Regions from separate parts of the Homo sapiens genome. Here all the other regions are linked to region 1. The links are contacts of gene promoters, found by promoter capture Hi-C in blood cells and fetal thymus (Javierre and others, 2016). All regions are on one chromosome and are shown on one strand. The core of a region is centred on a gene start or on the middle of the fragment in contact, and the rest is flanking DNA. Distances in the headings are between cores, read along the strand shown. Region 1 holds the start of NXT1 (nuclear transport factor 2 like export factor 1). Region 2 overlaps LOC284788 (a long non-coding RNA gene). Region 3 has its middle 11 kb from the start of LINC01747. Region 4 has its middle 28 kb from the start of LINC01747. Region 5 overlaps LINC01747 (long intergenic non-protein coding RNA 1747). Region 6 has its middle 70 kb from the start of LINC01427. Region 7 has its middle 57 kb from the start of LINC01747.

Region 1 (2,700 bases), core at 36-2,535:
GACAAGAAAAAAAAAGCCTCTACATGTTCAGTACAAACGCATTTTTCTTTTTCTGAAGAATATTTTTGATTTGAGGTTGGTTGAATCCACCCCACGCGGAACCCACGACTAAGAAGCGCTGTGTTTGCTAAGGGCTTCACACAAATTACCTCATTTAAATGTTACCACAAATGGATGAAAAAGGTATTACTATAACAATTTTACAAATGAGAAAAGGGAAACCTAGGGCTGGATCAAAGTAACGACGGTTAAGTACACTCCTGATCTATCGTTTACAAGACTAGACTGAGGGCTGAAATTTTGTCAATACAACGCTGTCCTTGTACTCGCGTAAGCAAGTCTCCATGAGCACAACTCCAGGACTGCTAGAGTGGGAATTTTCTCCCAGGGACCCCATTTCTCTTTGGCTGGAATTCCCGATCTCCACCTCACTCCTCCTCCCTCCATGGCACCAGTCCCCCCATCATCTCAGAAATGCCCCTCTTCTCCGCCCCTGGCTGTCTTTCCAAACACAATCTAACAACTGGCCACGCCCCCACACACCATAGAAGGACCATCTCCACTTACGGTTTTCAGCTACCTATGAGGTCGTCAGTCCCGCTGTCTGTGTCAAATCAGAAAAAGAACCTGACCGTGAGGACTAGAGTAAGAGGCTGTGAAGACTGCCGCCTCCTCGCACGACCCACACCGTCGAGTGTCCGGAGATGGACGGGAAAAGCTACCACAGTGGCATGGCCTTATTTCCTGTGAGTCGCCTTTAATTCAAACCTAGACAGACGCACGCCCTGCCCGGCCCTCCTCAGACCCGAGAGCTGCGCTGTGAGGGGACGCGCCTCCCCTCGTTGATGAGAATTCGCTGCCACGCTTTTTGCACAGGCGAGAGCCTCACCGCGGCGGCAACTCTACCACGTGGACAAAGGCACAGCCGTGTCTCATTCTCGACAATGGAGGAGGGCGTGGGGTATGCACTAGGGGCTGTCTCGGGGGTCAGACCGCCGGGGGACGGCAACGTACCTGCGCGGCGACGTCCAGGGTCAGCGCGGGCCGCGGCCCCCACGGTCGGGACGCCCCCCGCGTGGGACGCAGTTCCACTGAGGGGCCGGCCGCGGAGGTCACAAGGTGGGCCCACCGAAGCCTCTGGTAGGGGCACGGGAAGAGCCGCCTTTCTCTCCTCCTCCTCCTTCTTGGAGGCTTACTCTGGGTCACCGGGGCCCCAGAGCCGGGGGACTTTCCGGCGCAGTTCCGCGGCTTCCCGCGCGCGGCCAGCCGGTCTCCACGCAGACGCGAGCGCCCCGGCGCCGCCCTCTCCCGCATTCCCGTGACGGGCAGCGAAGTCAGCCAGTGGGACTGCGGGCCGGAAGGCTAACTCCGCCCATGTGTGGCTTATAAGAGGCGGTAGCTTCCGGGAGTGTCACTTTCCCAGAAATCCCGGCAAATCCGCCCTAGAGTTTTCGTTGGTCCAACCGGGCCACAGACTCCGGCCCGTCTGGTTAGGTGGGATGCCTGATTGGGCCAAACCTCTTAGGTCCCGCACCTAGAGCGGGGAGTAGCGTCTGCTTTTTTTTCCGCTGAGCGGAGGCCGCTAGGCTGGAGAGGGAGGGGAAGGTGTGTGGGGTCGGGTGAGATGCTTTCCCCTCGTCCCGCATGCGCCTGTATTGGAGTGATTTCAGTTAAAAGTCTCGTGAAACGTCACCAGTGATGTAGTCACGGCCAGCAGCAGCTGCCTGACCCCGCCGAGGCCTTCCGTCTGGCAACATGTGGGGCGCCGCAATGCTTGAGGCCACGGCGAGGGCAACGCCGGCCGCGCCCCGTGGAAACCGCGTGGCGGAGTGCTTGAGCCGATCGCGCTCTTTAGGAGTTAGGCCACTTAGAGGCGACATCTTGGTGGACACGGAGGAAGCCAGTTTTAGTCAGATGGGAAAAGTAGCTAAAAGTGGGAGGAGACTGGGGCGAGGGTGGGACGTGGGGGAGGCGGGGGCGTGACGGCGGCTCTCCACTGCCCTGAGGCTTGAGGGGCCCCGGGAAACCCGGGCCCGGCTGGGGTTGGGACTCTGTTCTTCCGCGTTCATAGCTACGATTCAGCTGTTCTGGAATGAGAACTGGATTTTTACTGAACTTTACGAACAGGCTCAACAGGATGTAACCATTCAGTGTGGAGGCATGAGAAACTATAGCTTGTAAATTAAAAGAAAAACCTCATTTCTTTAGACAACATTTTCAGCTCCATCTGCTGGTCTGAGGCTGAATAATTAATTGAAAAGCCAGGAGAGAAATGGGGCTAGATGAAGTGAGGTAGTTTAACCTGTGCTTTCTTGGCGTCCCGTCGGCTCCCTTTGCTTGCATTCCTAAGAGAATCTTGGTCTCAGATTTCAGGACAAGTGGAAAACAGTTGGGCTATTTAGTATAGGCCACCCCTTCCCCCCCGCACCCTCTCCCCCCACACACTTCAGTTAAGTAGGTGGAAAGTTTGGATTATTAAAAAGACACGTTGGAGGCTGAGCAGAGAGTGTGAAAGAGCATTTTCGGGGCTTTGTGAACTAACATGGCCTTTTGAACCCCAAGGCAGTGATACTTGGATTGATCTAAATCAGCGTGGATGGAATGGAAGTGGGAATGCGTTGATTTACTGCACGCTCAGTAGTTTGGATGCTGTGCTGCTTTTGTTTCCTGTATAATAAGCCCCTTTAATTTGTTTCACAT
Region 2 (2,719 bases), core at 195-2,694, 950 kb after region 1:
AGGTAGTTTACACTGCAAGAGGATAATTCCTTTTGGCTGTTTAAATCAACCACGTTTGCATTTTCCACAACATTTTTAATTAGTTTTTTCTCAGGCTAAGTCAGCATTCATCACTGGGTGAACGAACATCAGACTTTGTTCATAATGGAGGCTTTTGAGTGTGCAGAAAAATATTCCAAGACAATTGCAGGCATCTGAACTCATATTTCACCCCCACTTTCTTGTACCCAAAAGTTCAATGTGGAAAATGAAAGCATAAAATGAGATTCTTTTATGGAGAAAAGTTGATGGCATAAATAGAGTAAGGGGGTGAGGGAGTATATACATATTTTTAATTTGAGCTATTCTAGAAACTTTGCCCACAGTAGAGCAAATAATAATAATAATAATATTCTGAATGAAATAAAAGGTGAAGAAAATTTGGCAGAAATGAATAGTTTTAATTACAAAAATAAAGAATATTCTTGTAGGACCTGTTTATGCATTTACCTTTATAGCCCACAAAATATTTTTTAAGTAAATAATTATCTATTTATATTCACATAGAATAATACAAAGCTTTAACGAAGACCGCAGAAGAACTTCATATCTGAGTACCATTTGCAATCGATTTACAAATAATGCCAGCATCCTTAGCGACTTCTTCAGGCAAGGTTATACTGGGGGTTTTTGAGGCTAAGCAGGTAAGAGTGCTAACATAAATGAGAAGAAAGTACCTCATTGTTACCAAAACTGTAGCCAGGCTTTCCACGTGGGGTTTGAAAAGAGATTGACATGTTGCCCTCACTGGAAGGAGAGTAAAATCAAGTTTGTGTGGGGTGGGAGGAGAGGTTGTATGTATCTGAGGAAGTCAGGCTGTTGAAATGCTTTTCCTCAGTGTCCTGTGTTCACATACAGGTGAACTGGGAGTACCGCACACAGCATGGCTTCCAGCCTGAAGTGACTGTAAAATGCCAGTGAATAGAGAGGCTCAAGGCTGAGTAAAGGATCCTGCACACTCAACAGGCTCATCCTTCTCTGCACCCGAGTTGTTCATAGAGTCCCAGTTACAGAGCTTTCAGAAGGCGGAATTCGTCCACAGCACACTATTGATGCCTATCGAATCTAAGGAAATTAACTAAGAAGGGAAGAAATAATCTTCATAGAAAAGGGATTTGAGAACCCAGAAGAGGGTATGGGCCTGGCAGTGTGCATGCTGCAAACTATGCACCATCACTGGCCTAAAACGCACCTCTGTGTGCATCATTTACTCACGTTTAAAAATCACCCTCTACTTGTTCTCCTGTGACCCTCATTGGACTATATCCAGACAGCACTGAAAGTGATAGCCAGAAAAAGTAGAAACAACCCATGTGTTCATCCACTGACGAATGGATCAAAACATGTGGCGTGTCCATCCATACAAGGGGATATTACCCAGCAGTCAAAAGGAGCAAAGAACTGATGTATACCACACCATGGCTGATTCTCAACAGTATGTTCAGTGAAAGAAACCAGTCACAAAAGCACATGTACTGTATGTCTATTTATATGAACTGCTTGGAGGAGGCACCTAGTGGTTGCCAGGGGCTTGGGGTGGGGGTGGAGGGCAGGAATGGGGAATGCCTGCCCCCTCCATGGGGTTTCTTTGTGGGGTGATTAAAATGTTCTAAAATTGGTATGGTGATGGTTGCATGAGTCTGTGAATACACTAAAACCACTGAGTGGTACACTTTAAACAGGTAAATGTTATGGTATATGAATCAAATCTCAATGAAGCTGTTAGAGAAAAAAAACAAAAGGAAGCAAAACCTGACATCTAGAGTGTTATGGAGCCAAAATGAGCTTTCAAAAAGAATTGCATAGGCCCCTGAGGAACCATGGAAAGCAACATGAACGTGAACTCCAAGCAGGCCATGGGCCATCTCCAACCGATTCCACCCAGGTGAAGGGAGCAGGTGTCAGGATCAAATCCTGACTTAAAATTGGTAAATATTTGTTGGTTATCTATGCTGTACTAGGCATCGTGGCCCACAAGGGAGAACAAAATTTCTTGTGGAGCTCACAGTCTAGGAGAGAGGCGAATATATGCAATTAGCCAGACCACAAGTGGCACAACCATGCATGTCATTAACAGTGGGCTTGGAAGTGCAAGGGGCATCCACTTACCTCTGGGAATCCCTGCTGCAGAGCAGGGAAATCAGACAACAAGTTTTCTAAGTTTAGATTTTATTCTGTAGGTCATGAAGAGTCTCCAAAGTTTCTTTAGAAGAAAAGTGATAAGATATTTAACAGAACCCAATGTTAGGTTCTGTGCTGGATCCCAGCACAAACGCACGAACGCAAGCTTGAGGATCCATGATTCAGCAAACCTTCAGGTCCAGGGAAAGCACCTGGAAGCTTCTCCCTTTGCAGCATTGTTGTAGGTTGAAGGGATTGTGTGGTTCTCCAAACACCTAGCAAGATTCTGGATTGCATGAATACTATTAAGCCTCAGATGCAAGTTGGAGTAAGTTTACCATTCTGAGACCTGAAGATCACATCTGAAGGCCTCATTCAAGCCTAGATACCTCATTTCCAAGGACCACATATAGAGGAATATGGGCAGGACTTGGGAAGAGCCAATAATTACAGAATATAGAGAAAGGTGGAAGAAAATATGAAAAACCCACTTAGCCAGGGCAGGTATCCAGCCTTACCAAGCCCCTGCTATGGACTGGGTGCTGTGTATCACTACCAG
Region 3 (2,700 bases), core at 97-2,596, 650 kb after region 1:
ATGATCACCTTGAGATGTGCTTAGGCATCCAAGTGGAAAGGTTGAGTAGGCAGTTGGGTATATAAATCTGGAATTTAGGAAAAGATTTAGGTTAAAAATATAAACATGGAAGTTATAGCATACCAATGGTATTTAAAGCTATGAGACAAAATGGGGTCATCAAAGGGGAGTGTCTTTAAAAAGAAGACAAAGAGCTGACATTACAAGGTCATGGACAAAGGAGAAACTGGCAAAGGTGACAGAGAAAACAAAGCAGTGTGTGGTGTCCTAGAAGCCAAATGCAGAAAATGTTTCAAGGAGTTGGAAGCACTCAATAAATCTTTTCCAATGCTGCTGAAGGGTCAAATCGGATGAGGACTGAGAATGGACCTTTGGCTTCAGCAACATGGAGGTCAAGGTGATCTTGACAAGAGCAGTTAGTTGAGTTCAAGGATTCTAGTCTGATGAGAGTGGAATCAAAAGAAAGTGGGAAGCAATGAATTAATGACAGCAAGTGACATCTTTCAGAGTTTTGTCTCAAATGGAAAGCAAAGAAATGTACATAAGCTGGAGGAAGAAGGGTCATGAGAGTGATCTTCAGATGAGAGAAATTATATAAGCTTGTTGAGTGATGGGAATGATCCAATACAAAGCCAACAGCTGGCAACGTAGGAGAGAGAGGGTAGAATCCCTAACAAAGCTGAGACCTCGTGCACTAGAGAGAAAGGTGGTGTTACTTTGCGAAAGAGGCAAGAAGGCAGAAGTGAAGGTGCAAAGAAAGGTGGATGAGTAAAGGTGGCAGTGACTGTCTTTGGAACTTATCTGGTTACTTAAATTTTTCCAGTAAAGGTAGAAGCTGAGAGAGAGAATGGGGTAAGAGATATGGGGAATTGAGAAGAGAAGAGAAGAGAAGAGAAGAGAAGAGAAGAGAAGAGAAGAGAAGAGAAGAGAAGAGAAGAGAAGAGAAGAGAAGGTGTGACATGGCCATTTAGAGAACATGAGAGAGGAGGGACATGCAACGGCACTGCCAGGCAGCATGAAGGGCCTCAGGTTTTCACAGCCATGAAGTTGAAGCCAGACATGCGGCCGTGGTGTGTGCTTCCCTGCAGGCATGTTCAGCTGCACCAAAGTAGGCAAGGAGTAGGCAGATTTGATTTCACCAGGGTTGTGGGTTGCCAAGCTAGGAGGAGAGAGGAGCAAGGTGGTGTTGATAGTGACTGACCACGAGATTGGAGCTGGGAAAGTGGGGGTGAGGAATAGTAGAAAGGAGGATTTCTGCTTCCAACAAAGATGGAGTAACAGGAATCAGAGCTACCCTCCCATCTTAAAGAACTAAATAACTGGTTCTCTCTCTCTCTCTCTCTCTCTCTGTGTGTGTGTGTGTGTGTACACATATGTACAGGACCCAGTGATCTCCCTGAGTTTAGAAGATGGAGCTGGGAATCTGGGGAGGCTACAGCGGTAGAATCCCAGAGAGGTCCACTGCATAGATAGAGAACTCTAGAAGACTGAAAGAGGCACAGAGAGCTAGAGGGCCACAGAGAGACACAGAGGGCCACAGAGAGTCACAGAGGGTTACAGAGGACTGCAGAGGGCCACAGAGGGCCTCGTGGAGCTGCAGAGGGCCGGAGAGGGCTGCAGAGATCCACAGACGGCCACAGAGGGCCCAGAGTCCTCTATAGGTCTTCAGCAGAGCATACTTGAGTGTGAGGCAAGTGGGCAAGGCTGAAGAAGAACCATCAGAAAGGAGAGGAGGGGACAGCCTGCAGCACTCATGCAGGTAAAACAGCGAGTGTTTTACCACTGCTCTTCTGCAAAGCCTCCTAACACACAGGCATCAGTAGAGTACTCAGAAGGTTATTATCTCAACAGAGGGGCAAAATCGGGCTACTCTGGCCTTATTGAGCAAAACTTAAAAGCAAGATCCTAAAAGATCAAAAATTGTTTTCTTATTTTTTTTTTTAAGACAGGGTCTCACTTTGTTGCTTAGGCTGGATTTGAACTCCTGGGCTTAAGCAATCCACCTGTCTCGGCCTTACAAGCAGCTGGGACTACAGGCTCTCATCACAGCACCCAGCCTCTGTCCCCTTACCTACATCCCAGAACAAAGCTTTAATTTTTTTGTATTAAAATAATATAAAAATATTCAGGACCAACAAGGTGAAATGTGGTAGGATCAATGGGATGAATATCCTAGTAGGCTTGCAGGATTGCTGGCCTTAGAATTCTAGAGAAAGTAAACTAGAAATATGGTCAGAAAGGGAAGTCCTTAAAAGTAAGATAGTAGCAGAGCTGTAGTTATTGCTAATGACATCTCAAATCAATGATAAAAGTGAGTGGAGGATAGGATGGGTGAAGAATCAGGGTTCAATAACTGAGAGGCCAGGTTCTACAAAGAATCATGTGTGCACACACTGAAACTATTAAGAATGAAGATAGATGCAATATTGGAGAGAATGACAGCAAGCCAGGATCATTAATCATCTAGAACAGCATCATCCATTACAACAGTCATTAGCTGTGCATGGCTATTTCCATTTTAATTTTTAAACTTTAACTGCTGTTAAATAAAGTTTAAAAAAATACGTCCTTAGTTGCAGCAGCTAGATTTCAAGTGCTCAGTAGCCACACGAGGCAGGTGGCTATCATTTTGCACAAGCAGTTATGGAATCTTTCTATCATGGCACGAAGTTCTATTGAACAGCGCTGGCCTGCGTTTGG
Region 4 (2,700 bases), core at 47-2,546, 640 kb after region 1:
TGAAAACTGGCACAAGACAAGGATGCCCTCTCTCAACACTCCTATTCAACATAGTATTGGAAGTTCTGGGTAGGCCAATCAGGCAACAGAAAGAAATAAAGGGTATTCAAATAGGAAGAGATGAAGCCAAATTGTGTTTGTTTGCAAATGACGTGATCCAATATCTAGAAAACCCCATTGTCTCAGCCCAAAAGCTTCTTAAGTTGATAAGCAATGTCAGCAAACTCTAAGGATACAAAATCAATGTGCAAAAGTCACAAGCATGCCTATACACCAACAACACGCAAGCAGACAGCCAAATCATGAATGAACTCCCATTCACAATTGCTACCAAGAGAATAAAATGCCTAGGAATACAGCTAACAAGGGAAGTGAAAGACTTCTTCAAGGAGAACCAAACCATTGCTCACAGAAATCAGAGAAAATATAAAAGAATAGAAAAACATTCCATGCTCATGGATAGGAAGAATCAATATCATAAAAATGGCCATACTCCCCAAGGAAATGTATAAATTCAATGCTATTCCCATCAAACTACCATTAACATTCTTCACAGAATTAGAAGAAACTATTTTAAAATTCCTGTGGAAACAAAGAAGAGCTTGTATAGACAAGACAATCCTAAGCAAAAAGAACAAAGCTGGAGGCATCACACTACCAGATTTCAAACTATACTACAAAGCTACAGTAACCAAAACAACATTGTACTGGTACAAAAACTGACACATAAACCAATGGAGCAGAATAGAAAACTCATAAATAAAACTACACATTTACAACAATCTGATCTTTGACAGACCTGACAAAAATAGGCAATGGAGAAAGAATTCCCTATTTAATAAATGGTGCTGGGAAAACTGGCTAAACATATGCAGAAAATTGAACCTGGACCTTTTCATTACACCTTATACAAAAATTAACTCAAGATGAAATAACAACCTAAATGTAAAACCCAAAACTGTAAAAACCCTAGAAGAAAACTTAGGCAATACCATTAAGAACATAGGCATGGGCAAAGATTTCATGACAAAATTGCCAAACACAATTGCAACAAAAGCAAAAATTGACAAATGGGAACTAATCAAGCTAAAGAGCCTCTGCAAGCAAAAGAAACTATCATCAGAGTGAACAGGCAATCTACAGAGTGGGAGAAAGTTTTGCAATCTATCCATCTGACAAAGGTCTAATATTCAGAATCTACAAGGAGCTTAAACAAGTTTACAAGAAAAAAACAGACCAGTCCATCAAAAAGTGGGCAAAGGTTATGAACAGACACTTCTCAAAAGAAGACATTCATGCAACCAACAAACGTATTAAAAAAAAAAAAACTCAATATCATTGCTCATTAAAGAAATGCAAATCAAAGCCACAGTAAGATACCATCTCATGCCAGTCAGAATGGCAATTATTAAAAAGTCAAGAAACAACAGATGGCAGCAAAGTTGTGTAGAAATAGGAACAATTTTACACTGTTGGTGGGCATGTAAATTAGTTCAACCATTGTGAAAAAACGGTCTGGTGATTCCTCAAAGATCTAGAACCAGAAACACCAATTGCTCCAAGAATTCTATTTCCGAATATATACCCAAAGGAATATAAATCATTCTGTTACAAAGATACATGCACACGTATGTTCATTGCAGCACTATTCACAATAATAAAACATGGAATCAACCCAAATGCCCAGTCAATTATAGACTGAATAAAGTCAATGATAGACTGGAATCAACCCAAATACTCAGTCAATGATAGACTGGATACAGAAAATGTAATACATATACACCATGGAATACTATGCAGCCATAAAAAGGAACAAGATCATGTCTTTTGCTGAGACATGAATGGAGCTGGAAGCCATTATCCTCAGCAAGCTAATACAGGAACAGTAAACCATACACCACATATTCTCACTTATAAGTGGGAGCTCAACAACAAGAACCCATGGACACAGGGAGGGGAACAACACACACTGGAGCCTGTAGTGGGGTGGGGTTGGGGGAGAGAGAGCATTAGGAAAAGTGGCTAATGAATACTAGGCTTAATACCTAGGTGATGGGTTGATAGGTGCAGTAAACCACCATAATACACATTTACCTATGTAACAAACCTGCACATCCTCCACATGTACCCTGGAACTTAAAGATAATTTTTTTTAAAAAATGACTGTGGCTTCTGTCTTGATCGATCTCTCTCTCTCTCTCTCTCCCTCCCCCCGCCCCCTCTCCTCCCTTTCTTGGATTGCTCACCCCAGGGCAGCAGGTAGTAAGTCAGCCCTGTACAGGGAGCCTACATGGCAAGGAGCCGAGCCTGCCAACAGCCACATGAGTGAGCTTCACCCACTCCCAACTCATCAGACCTTCAGATGACACTGCAGCCCTGGCCCACAATTTGAAGCTTCATGAGAGCCCTTGAATCAGACACACCCAGCTAAGCCACAAATGGATTCCTGGCCCACAAAGATAATAAATATTTGTTGTATTAATCACCTAAATTTTGGAGTAATTTGTTATACAACATAGATAGCAAATATAGTCATCTTATCTAGAAGTCACTTCTCTTTATTATTCAAAGAAGTGAGGGTCAGGGTTAGTGGGTTTCATTTCTTGCCTAAAACATTTCCACCAGACCCTGCCCCAAACACCATGCATGGGCCCTGGGGGTCAGAGATCTAAAGAACACCTCCTACAAGCTGTGTGACCA
Region 5 (2,700 bases), core at 24-2,523, 670 kb after region 1:
TTCAAGATTCTGTCATTAAAAACTGTGCGGTCTTAGGGGATGTTAGGAACCATTAGAAGCCTCGGGTGGTCTCCTACAGGGCAACAGTGAGAATCAACACTGCTGATAATCCTATAATTTGGGGCTAACACATGGTAAGTACTTTACAGCACGTGTGATTGTCTCTGCTACTACTGTGCTATTTGCTATTGTCACCTCTTGTGGTAGGAGGCATTATTTGCCGTAAATCTTCATCTCTCCTGCATCCACACCCTCTCCAAGGTAAGGTGGGTGTGAGCTATTTTCTTGCCCCTTTACTTTGGGCTGGAGCATTCAACTTTGTTTCACCAATAGCCTCTAGAAGAAGGGATTGTTTTCCGGTTTTGAGCCTAGGAATCAAGAAGCCTTGTGTGTTTCCACGTTCCCTCTTATTTTTCTGCCAATGACATGAGGAGAAGTCCCCCTGGGTCACTACTGTGCTGCAGCCTTGGCTCAAAACAAGCATGGTGGAGTCGAGCCCTCCTTGCCCACCCACAGACTAGCACTGAGAGCAAAACTACCTGGGCCAAGGCAGCCTGGAGCAAAACTGCCTGGCAAAGCCCAGCCCTGACCAGCTGAACCCAGAGAACACACAGGCACATGAGCAACAGCAAATGACTGCTGGATTATGCAATTGATATGAGGATGTTTTGTTATGCAGCTATAGCTAACTGATACATTATTCCTGATAATTTCAATACCAGAGGCTGTTGAATAAGCAAAAGCCTGATGGAGGGGCTATGTAGGGTGGAAACTGGAAACAGTGGGAAAACAGGGTATGGAAAACAGAACAGTGGGAACTAAGGATTAAAAGGCATGGAGATTACGGAGTTCCCTGAGGATAAAGCTAAGGAGCCCAGGCTTTACCCATTTTACAGTGGTAGCCCCTGGAGGCTTTAAGGAGGTTGAGGTGAGCAAGAAGAAGTTTAGGAGAGGTGATAGGACTGCAGCTCCTTCTTATGCGGGCCACACAGAACAGGGCCGGCCACTTGGCACCACAGCTCCCTACACCTTCCTCCCATCAGGCCCGGAGAGGCTGGTCGGTTGGTGGTCTCCCTTCCTTTCCCTGTCCAGAGGGACAGGGAAATGCTCCCGATTTTAGCATTGATAAATACACCAAGGGGCAGTGAGGTGGCAGCCCGGACCCTCTCTCCTTCTCTGACAAATCCACTGTCCTGGACATTGTCTAGACATGGGACTGTGGCTAAACAAAAGTAACAGACACTAAACCAATGATCTGCACTTTGTCCCTATATTGTCAGCAGCTCCAGCAGCCTAAGGGCTATCCTCTGAAGCAGAGTCACAGAGCCGAGTGTAGCAAGAAAAGGCTCGGTGATGCCTGGGGAGGCGACGCCGGCAGTCAGAAGAATCCAAAGGAGCCTTGACAGCGTCACTGCAGACAAACCTGTCTCCACTGACTGCCCTACTCAGACTCTGCCTGTCTGTGGTGGCCCACTCTCCTCGGGGTGGATCGGCCTAAGAGTTTCATTAAAATCAAGGGGACGGGGATTGTGGGTAGTGTTGGGACCCAGTAAAGCCCTGGGCTTAATGGATCAGAACCAAAACCCCAGCTCCACATGGGCAGCCCTCAGTTTTCATGGGTCAGCCCTTTCTGAGAAACCCAGCCAGGGAGGAGCACAGGACCAGCAGCAGGGGATGCTTCTAAACCCATATCTCACTGGATAAGCTCATCACCTTCCAAGCCTCTGAAGAACATTTACGTTCCTATAAGTTTCTGAAGCCACGTTCAAATCGTAGCTCTACCACCAATGAGCTGCACGTTGGAGGGGAAGTGAATTCACCCCAGACCTGAGTTCCACATCCCTAGACTGGGTGAGAGGGCCTCTGCCCAGGCTCTCCATGAGGATGACCTGCACCGTGTGCCTTTAATGCACTTAGAACAGCAGGTGCCTCAGTAAACGCTCACTGCCATTCTGCGATCATTATTGCATTCACTTCCTGGGGCTGCTGCAACAAAGTACCACACCCTGGGGGCGAAAACAACAGACCCTGACCGTGCCGATGCTGGAAGTCTGAGATCAAGGTGTGGGCAGGGCTGGTTCCTTCCGAGGACTGTGAGGAAGACTGTTCCACGCCTCTCTGCAGCTCCGGGTGGTTTGCAGGCAACCTTTCCATTGCTGGCTTTGCAGACACATCACCCAGTCTCTGCCCTCATGTTCACATGGCTCTCTCCCTGTGTGTGTGTGTCTGCGTCCCAGCCTCCCCTGTTTATAAGGACATAGTGGCATTACATGACTACTATTACTCTGATAGGGCCTCATCTTAACTAACTACATCTGCAAATAACCCATTGCCACATAAGGTAGCATTCTGAAGTACTAGGGGCTAGGACATCAACATAGGAATTTGGGGAGCACATAATTCAACCCATGATAATGATTATCGTGATTATTATTAAGAATATATAACCACTGTAGGATGAAAGCAAATACTGTAAAATCCTACTCATAGGTTTGCAGGGATTAAATGGCATCACTGGAAAATTGTCTGACACAAAGAAGGGGTTCAACAAATGTTGTTTTACTTCCTCACTGTCAGCCTAAATATAGAAAGTATTTGCTCATTGGCCCGACAGACAAGTTTTGACTTCTAGTTTTATACCAGCTTTATGTATACATGCTTATATGTCGTATGTGACATTTTGTACATATAAACATTAGT
Region 6 (2,700 bases), core at 188-2,687, 1.0 Mb after region 1:
TGTATATCTCACTAAGGAGACCTCTGCTTCCTTCCACATATTCTGTGTGGTGCTGGAATTCTATACTATGTAGCTGAACACAGAGCTCCCTAGAATATGAGGTCTCATGTCTATTGGGAAGAGAATTCAGCTCTAAGCCCTGCCAGATTCTTGTACCCCAGTCAAGCAATGCTAGATGTTTATTGAACACCATTTATTTTATCAGAGAAACACTAATTGTGATATCCCTATGATTAATGACATATCTAACATGAAACTCAAAATTTGGTCTTCAGACCTATGACATCCATGTCACCTGGGACTTGTTAGAAATACAGAATTGCAGACCTCATCCCAGACATGCTGAGTCATAATTTACAAGATCTCCAGATGATTCATCTGCACATTCAAATTTGGGAAGCAAAATTTTAGCGCCAACTGAGAGAACCAAGGCTCCCTTAGCTGGAGCATGAACTTTGAGCTGAAGCCTTGTGAAAGCTAACCAGCCATGCTGCAGTGTGCCTCCAGATCTGGGCACGTGCATGTTCAGCAACCAACCCAAGATGAAGATGAAAACCACCTATACTCATCTGGATAGCACAGGGTCACTGCTAATATATTTAAAAGTAAATAAGAAATGATTTTAAAATTTCTCTCTTATATAAACTTCAGTAAAAAGATCAGCAGGGGCCTCTGATGAGTAATCATGAAGACCCTAGGTCAATCTTCAAACACTCACGAAATGATGTTTGAAGCCCTTGCGAAGAAATACAAAAAATGAGAGAGAAGAGGTTTAATGAGAAGCATAATTCTAGAATCTACCTCTGGTCCTACTGCCACCAGATCTGTGACTTTAGGCAAGTCACTTAACCCCTTTGAATCTCCATTGTGAAATGGAAATTTAACTGGTTAAATAGAAATTTGACTTGTTAAACAGAAATTATAATAGCTGTCTTATCTACTTCACAAGGTTGTCTACTGATGGATATCATGAAGTAATTCCAGTTTCAAAAGTTGTAAATATATTCTGCAAATATACCACAAAGAACTTGCAGCTTCCTATAGTCACCAAAAGTGTCTAAGCAAAAACTGTAGCCCAGGACCTGAGCTGAGGGATGACTACATTATAACAACTAGGAATTCTTGTCACCTTACTTTTTTAAGTCTTCACGTACATTGCACATTTAATACCTCCAAAATTATGAAGAAAAGTATTATTATTATTCTAATATTGACCTGGACATGAAGGCAGAGAATAAGTGTTATTCCAAAATCAGTATATTTGTCAATCATCATTCTCCATTTTCTCTTCCAATCTGACTCAGACATTTATTTCATAGGCCATAGCTCTCCTTGTGGAAACAACCATCGAAACTGTGACTTCAGACATTTTCAAATTGTGCATACGTGCTTTGAGAAAATGGAATAGTCCTGAGAAGTATGACTCCTAGAGAGATTGCTGTTTCGTAAACGGAATTTAACTCCCAGAGAACTGGACCTCACTTTCTCTCTAGCCCTCCAAGAGAAAGAACTTTAGGTGGAAAAAGACTTCTCAAGGTACAAACAAATTTAGCTATCAAAGTAGGTAATGGTGGAAATGAATGAGAATCATAGTTAATCAGGCAGACTTCACTGTTTTACAAAGAAATTCACATAATTTCCTGAATTTGGTGGATTTGGAACACCCTCCATCCAGATCTCAATTAGGAATAAGGTTTAGGATCATAATATTTTTGTGCTAGAGGTGACCTAGGTGCTGTGAGTTAAACTCTCATGTAACAGGGAAGGGAGATTTGCCTCATGGAGATCGAGTGACTCGTCCAGTTTAAAAATTTAGATATGATAGTTGTGGGATCAGAAAGTAGGACTTCCGAAACCCCATATACAGCTTTTTGTTTGATGTGATTGGAACTTGTTCCTAGGAGTCATGTTTATTAGGTTATAAAAGTGTCACATTATGAGCTGGTTCATTCCAGGCCATGAGCCCAAGTTAAGCCTTACATGGAAGTTCCAGAGGTCACCCTCAGCTCACTTGCTCTATTTTGCAAGGCTTCTAAAATTCCATAGTTATTAATTCTTCTGTGGATTTGATATCACCATGGAAAATATGTACAAATTGGCTCAGTTAAGACTGCATAGAATTGAAGAAGTGAAGGTAGACAGAAAAAAAATGTGAGGAGACGTAAGACAAGTTAGTTTAACTTTTAACCATTTCTCATTAAAAATGAACAGCTAGAACTTCATCAAGACGAACATCATCAAAAAAGGGGGGAAAAACAAACTTCCATATCAAATAAATTAGTCTCCATTAATCAACATATTTGTGACAACTTTTCTCCAATGAAATACTTGATCAATGACTTTCTTCTCTAGGTCTGTAAGTGGATGGCATTGGGACTATGTTTCCTCCTCTTTGTAAGGGCCAATCACAGATGGCTGGTATTTCGCATTCTATTTTCCATTGCCCCTGGGCTCCAACCGGCCCAGATGTCTCTTCCAAGAGTTGACGGTTAAAAGACTAAGATCAGTCCCAATATGTGGCCACTATTTTAATAAATATTTTCCTACTCATAGAAATATTCATCGATGCTTCTTTAACATTGAAAAGAGAGATTTACATTTTTAAATGTTGCATTTTGAATTAGGTTATAGAAGAATAACACGATGACCAATTTTCCACTTGCCGTTGGTTATTTGACTACTAATTTGATTGTAGAATTG
Region 7 (2,700 bases), core at 10-2,509, 610 kb after region 1:
AACTTGGAGACAAGATCAGAAGGGAGGACAAGGGTGAGACCAAGTAGAGTAAGTGAACCCAGATAAGTGCTTGGACTGCATTCTAAGCAATGGGACATGGTTGTTGGAAAGTCTGAAGTAGGAAAGCAATGTGATCCATGCTTTTAAAAAATCTCCTTGTGTCTCTGTGGGATTAAAACATACAGAGCAATGACTGAATCAGTATATGCCTTAGGAGACTACAGACTCTTCCAGTGTTCTAGAAGCTTGGACTAAGGTAGTGAGAATTCACAGAAGTGAAGGATTCAGGATATCTATATATGTAAGGAAAGGAAGACTTACTGGTGTGAAAGAAGAAGAGAATTCAGAGAGGTTGCATAGACTTTTGGCTTTAGCAAAAAATGAATCAATTTTGGATATTGTTTGCAGAAATGAAATGATAAATATTCTAGGTAGATTGGGGGAATACACCTGGAGTTCTGTTTGGGCCATTACAGACATGTTCCCTATAGACATCCATGAAGATTTGGGTTTATGGGTTTAGGTGAGAGGAGCGGGTGGAAATTTTGGAGTCTTTTCATGTAGAGGATTTGAAGTCTGAGGCCTAAATATTGTCACTCAGAGAGTTTGCAGATAAAGAAGGAAAGGGTGCCCAGGAAAGAGCACTTCAGCATTTGGAGGATGAGTAGAGGAGAGTATAAGGAAAAAGTACTCAAGGAGGTAGGGGATCTACCAAGGAAAGAAAGTATTACAGGAAGAGGGCAGTAGTTGCTGAGTGGTTGCTCAACTGTTGCTAAGATTATGTGGAATAATAGAAAGTGGCTGTTGAATTTAGAAACACAAAGATCTTGGTGTCTATGAAGAGTCTTTTTTTTTTTTTTCGAGATGGAATCTGGCTCTGTTGCCCATGCTGTAGTGCAGTGGTGCGATCTTGGCTCACCACAACCTCTGCCTCCCGGGTTCAACCAATTCTCCTGCCTCAGCCTCCTGAGTAGCTGGGATTACAGGCAAGTGCCACTGCTTTGTCCGACTAATTTTTTTTTTATTTTATTTGTATTTTTTTAGTAGAGACATGGTTTCACCATGTTGATCAGGCTGGTCTTGAACTCCTGGCCTTAGGTGGTCCAACTGCCTCAGCCTCCCAAAGTGCCAGGATTACAGGTGTGAGCCACTGCACCCGGCCTCCATGTAGAGTCTTAATGGAGTGATGGAGTGAGCTGACAAGAGAATGAGAGGTGAGTATGAACAGATGGAACCCTTGAGAAGCTATAACATAGGGAGTGAAGAACCAGCGCTGGCTCGGGAGAAATATGAGACCAGGAAAAATCTTTTCTGCATGGAAGATACTAGAATATGTTTACCTGCTGATGGGAATGGTCTAGTAAAGAAAAGAGGGCATTGTTTCAGGAGAAAGGGAACAACTAAAGGAGGGAGGTCCTGAGGCTATGAGAATAGATGTGGTTCAGGCCATGTCAGAAGGGGCTGGCTTCCATGAAACTATCCCAGGAGCGGAAGAAGAAAAAAAGGCTTGGCCCAGATGCCAGCCGATATATGGGTGGTACCTTGAGGCTATTACCAACTGAGGAGTTGCTTTCAGTTTCTCAGTACAGTATGAGGCTGAGTTATTAGCCAGCAGTTGCCCTATACTTAAAATGAGAGGGCTGAGACATTATTTTTTTAACAAACTTTATTTTTAGAGAAGTTTAAGATTCACTGAAAAATGAATAGACAAGTACAGAGTTCCTATACACCCCTCACTCCCACATCTGCGCAGTCTCTTCCACTATCAACATCCCCCACCAAAGCAGTACATTTGTTACAATCCAGGAACCTACACTGATACATCATTATCACCCAAAGTCCATAGTTTACATTGGGGTTCACTCTTGGTGCTGTATATTCAATAGATTTGTATTCAATAGACATATATCCAACACTGTAGTATTCTACAGATCAGTTTTCACTGCCCTAAAAATTATCTGTGCTCCATCTATTCATCCCTCCCTCTCCTCAACCCCTGGCAATCATTGATCTTTTCATTATCCACATAGTTTTACCTTTTTCAGAATGTCATGTAGTTGGAATCATTCACTATGTAGCCCTTTCAGATTGGCTTCTTTCACTTAGCTATATACACTTAAGGTTCCTTCATGTCTTTTCACAGCTCAATAGCTCATTTTTTAAGTGCTAAATATTATTCCATTGTCTGAATGTTTCACAATCTATTTATCCATTCACTTGCTGAAGGACATCTTGGTTCCTTCAAAGTTTTGGCCATTATGAATAAAGCTTCCATAAACATCTGTGTGAAGGTTTTAGTGTAGACATAAGTTTTCAACTCATTTGGGCAAATACCTAGGATCACAACTGCTGAATTCCATGTTGAGTATGTTTAGTTTTGTAAGTAATCACCAAACCATCTTGCAAAGTAGTTGTACCATTCTGCATTCTCAGCAGCAATGAATGAGAGTTTCTGTTGCTCAACATCCTCGCCATATTTGGTGGTGTCAGTGTTTTGGATTTTTATTCTAATGAATAGTGATGTCTCATTATTGTCTTATTTACAGTTCCCTAATGACGTATGATGTGCAGTATCTTTTCATATCCTTGTTTGTCATCTGCATATCTTTGTCAAAGTGTCTGTTTCAGTCTTTGGCATATTTTTTAAATGAGTTGTTTGTTTCCTTAGTGTTAAGTTTAAGAGTTCTTTGTATGTTTTGG

The links. The method cuts DNA at HindIII sites, captures the fragments that hold promoters and counts their contacts. A CHiCAGO score of 5 or more calls a contact.
Region 2: a fragment that was not itself captured here is called in contact with the fragment with the promoter of NXT1 in region 1 in 1 of 17 cell types (naive B cells); the score reaches 6.0 in naive B cells.
Region 3: a contact is called between a fragment that was not itself captured here and the fragment with the promoter of NXT1 in region 1, in 10 of 17 cell types (M0 macrophages, M1 macrophages, endothelial precursors and 7 more). The highest score is 26.0, in M0 macrophages.
Region 4: a contact is called between a fragment that was not itself captured here and the fragment with the promoter of NXT1 in region 1, in 1 of 17 cell types (endothelial precursors). The highest score is 5.3, in endothelial precursors.
Region 5: a fragment that was not itself captured here is called in contact with the fragment with the promoter of NXT1 in region 1 in 2 of 17 cell types (monocytes and megakaryocytes); the score reaches 8.7 in monocytes.
Region 6: a contact is called between a fragment that was not itself captured here and the fragment with the promoter of NXT1 in region 1, in 2 of 17 cell types (M1 macrophages and M0 macrophages). The highest score is 7.2, in M1 macrophages.
Region 7: a fragment that was not itself captured here is called in contact with the fragment with the promoter of NXT1 in region 1 in 2 of 17 cell types (M2 macrophages and M1 macrophages); the score reaches 5.9 in M2 macrophages.

The regions. Positions count from the first base shown.
Region 1 is chr20:23,349,376-23,352,075 of GRCh38, reverse strand. It overlaps NXT1 (nuclear transport factor 2 like export factor 1), which reads right to left and starts at 1,285. Exons shown (of 2, transcript NM_013248.3): 1 at 1,015-1,285. It overlaps NXT1-AS1 (NXT1 antisense RNA 1), which reads left to right and starts at 609. Exons shown (of 3, transcript XR_937384.2): 1 at 609-746. RefSeq lists enhancers at 434-483, 540-1,411, 1,350-1,644, 1,564-1,703, 1,412-2,284 and silencers at 974-1,243, 1,864-1,993. The HindIII fragment of the contact is 12,471 bases long and covers 1-2,700 here.
Region 2 is chr20:22,399,290-22,402,008 of GRCh38, reverse strand. It overlaps LOC284788 (a long non-coding RNA gene), which reads left to right. Exons shown (of 3, transcript NR_027090.1): 2 at 547-683; 3 at 898-1,676. Among named protein-coding and RNA genes, the nearest start is that of LINC01427, 120 kb to the right of the region's middle. RefSeq lists an enhancer at 1-134. The HindIII fragment of the contact is 1,768 bases long and covers 561-2,328 here.
Region 3 is chr20:22,695,355-22,698,054 of GRCh38, reverse strand. No RefSeq gene overlaps it. Among named protein-coding and RNA genes, the nearest start is that of LINC01747, 11 kb to the right of the region's middle. The HindIII fragment of the contact is 1,490 bases long and covers 602-2,091 here.
Region 4 is chr20:22,712,253-22,714,952 of GRCh38, reverse strand. No RefSeq gene overlaps it. Among named protein-coding and RNA genes, the nearest start is that of LINC01747, 28 kb to the right of the region's middle. The HindIII fragment of the contact is 2,200 bases long and covers 197-2,396 here.
Region 5 is chr20:22,676,841-22,679,540 of GRCh38, reverse strand. All of the region lies in intron 2 of LINC01747 (long intergenic non-protein coding RNA 1747), which reads left to right. Among named protein-coding and RNA genes, the nearest start is that of LINC01747, 7.2 kb to the left of the region's middle. The HindIII fragment of the contact is 3,781 bases long and covers 1-2,700 here.
Region 6 is chr20:22,351,477-22,354,176 of GRCh38, reverse strand. No RefSeq gene overlaps it. Among named protein-coding and RNA genes, the nearest start is that of LINC01427, 70 kb to the right of the region's middle. The HindIII fragment of the contact is 3,691 bases long and covers 1-2,700 here.
Region 7 is chr20:22,740,858-22,743,557 of GRCh38, reverse strand. No RefSeq gene overlaps it. Among named protein-coding and RNA genes, the nearest start is that of LINC01747, 57 kb to the right of the region's middle. The HindIII fragment of the contact is 2,023 bases long and covers 248-2,270 here.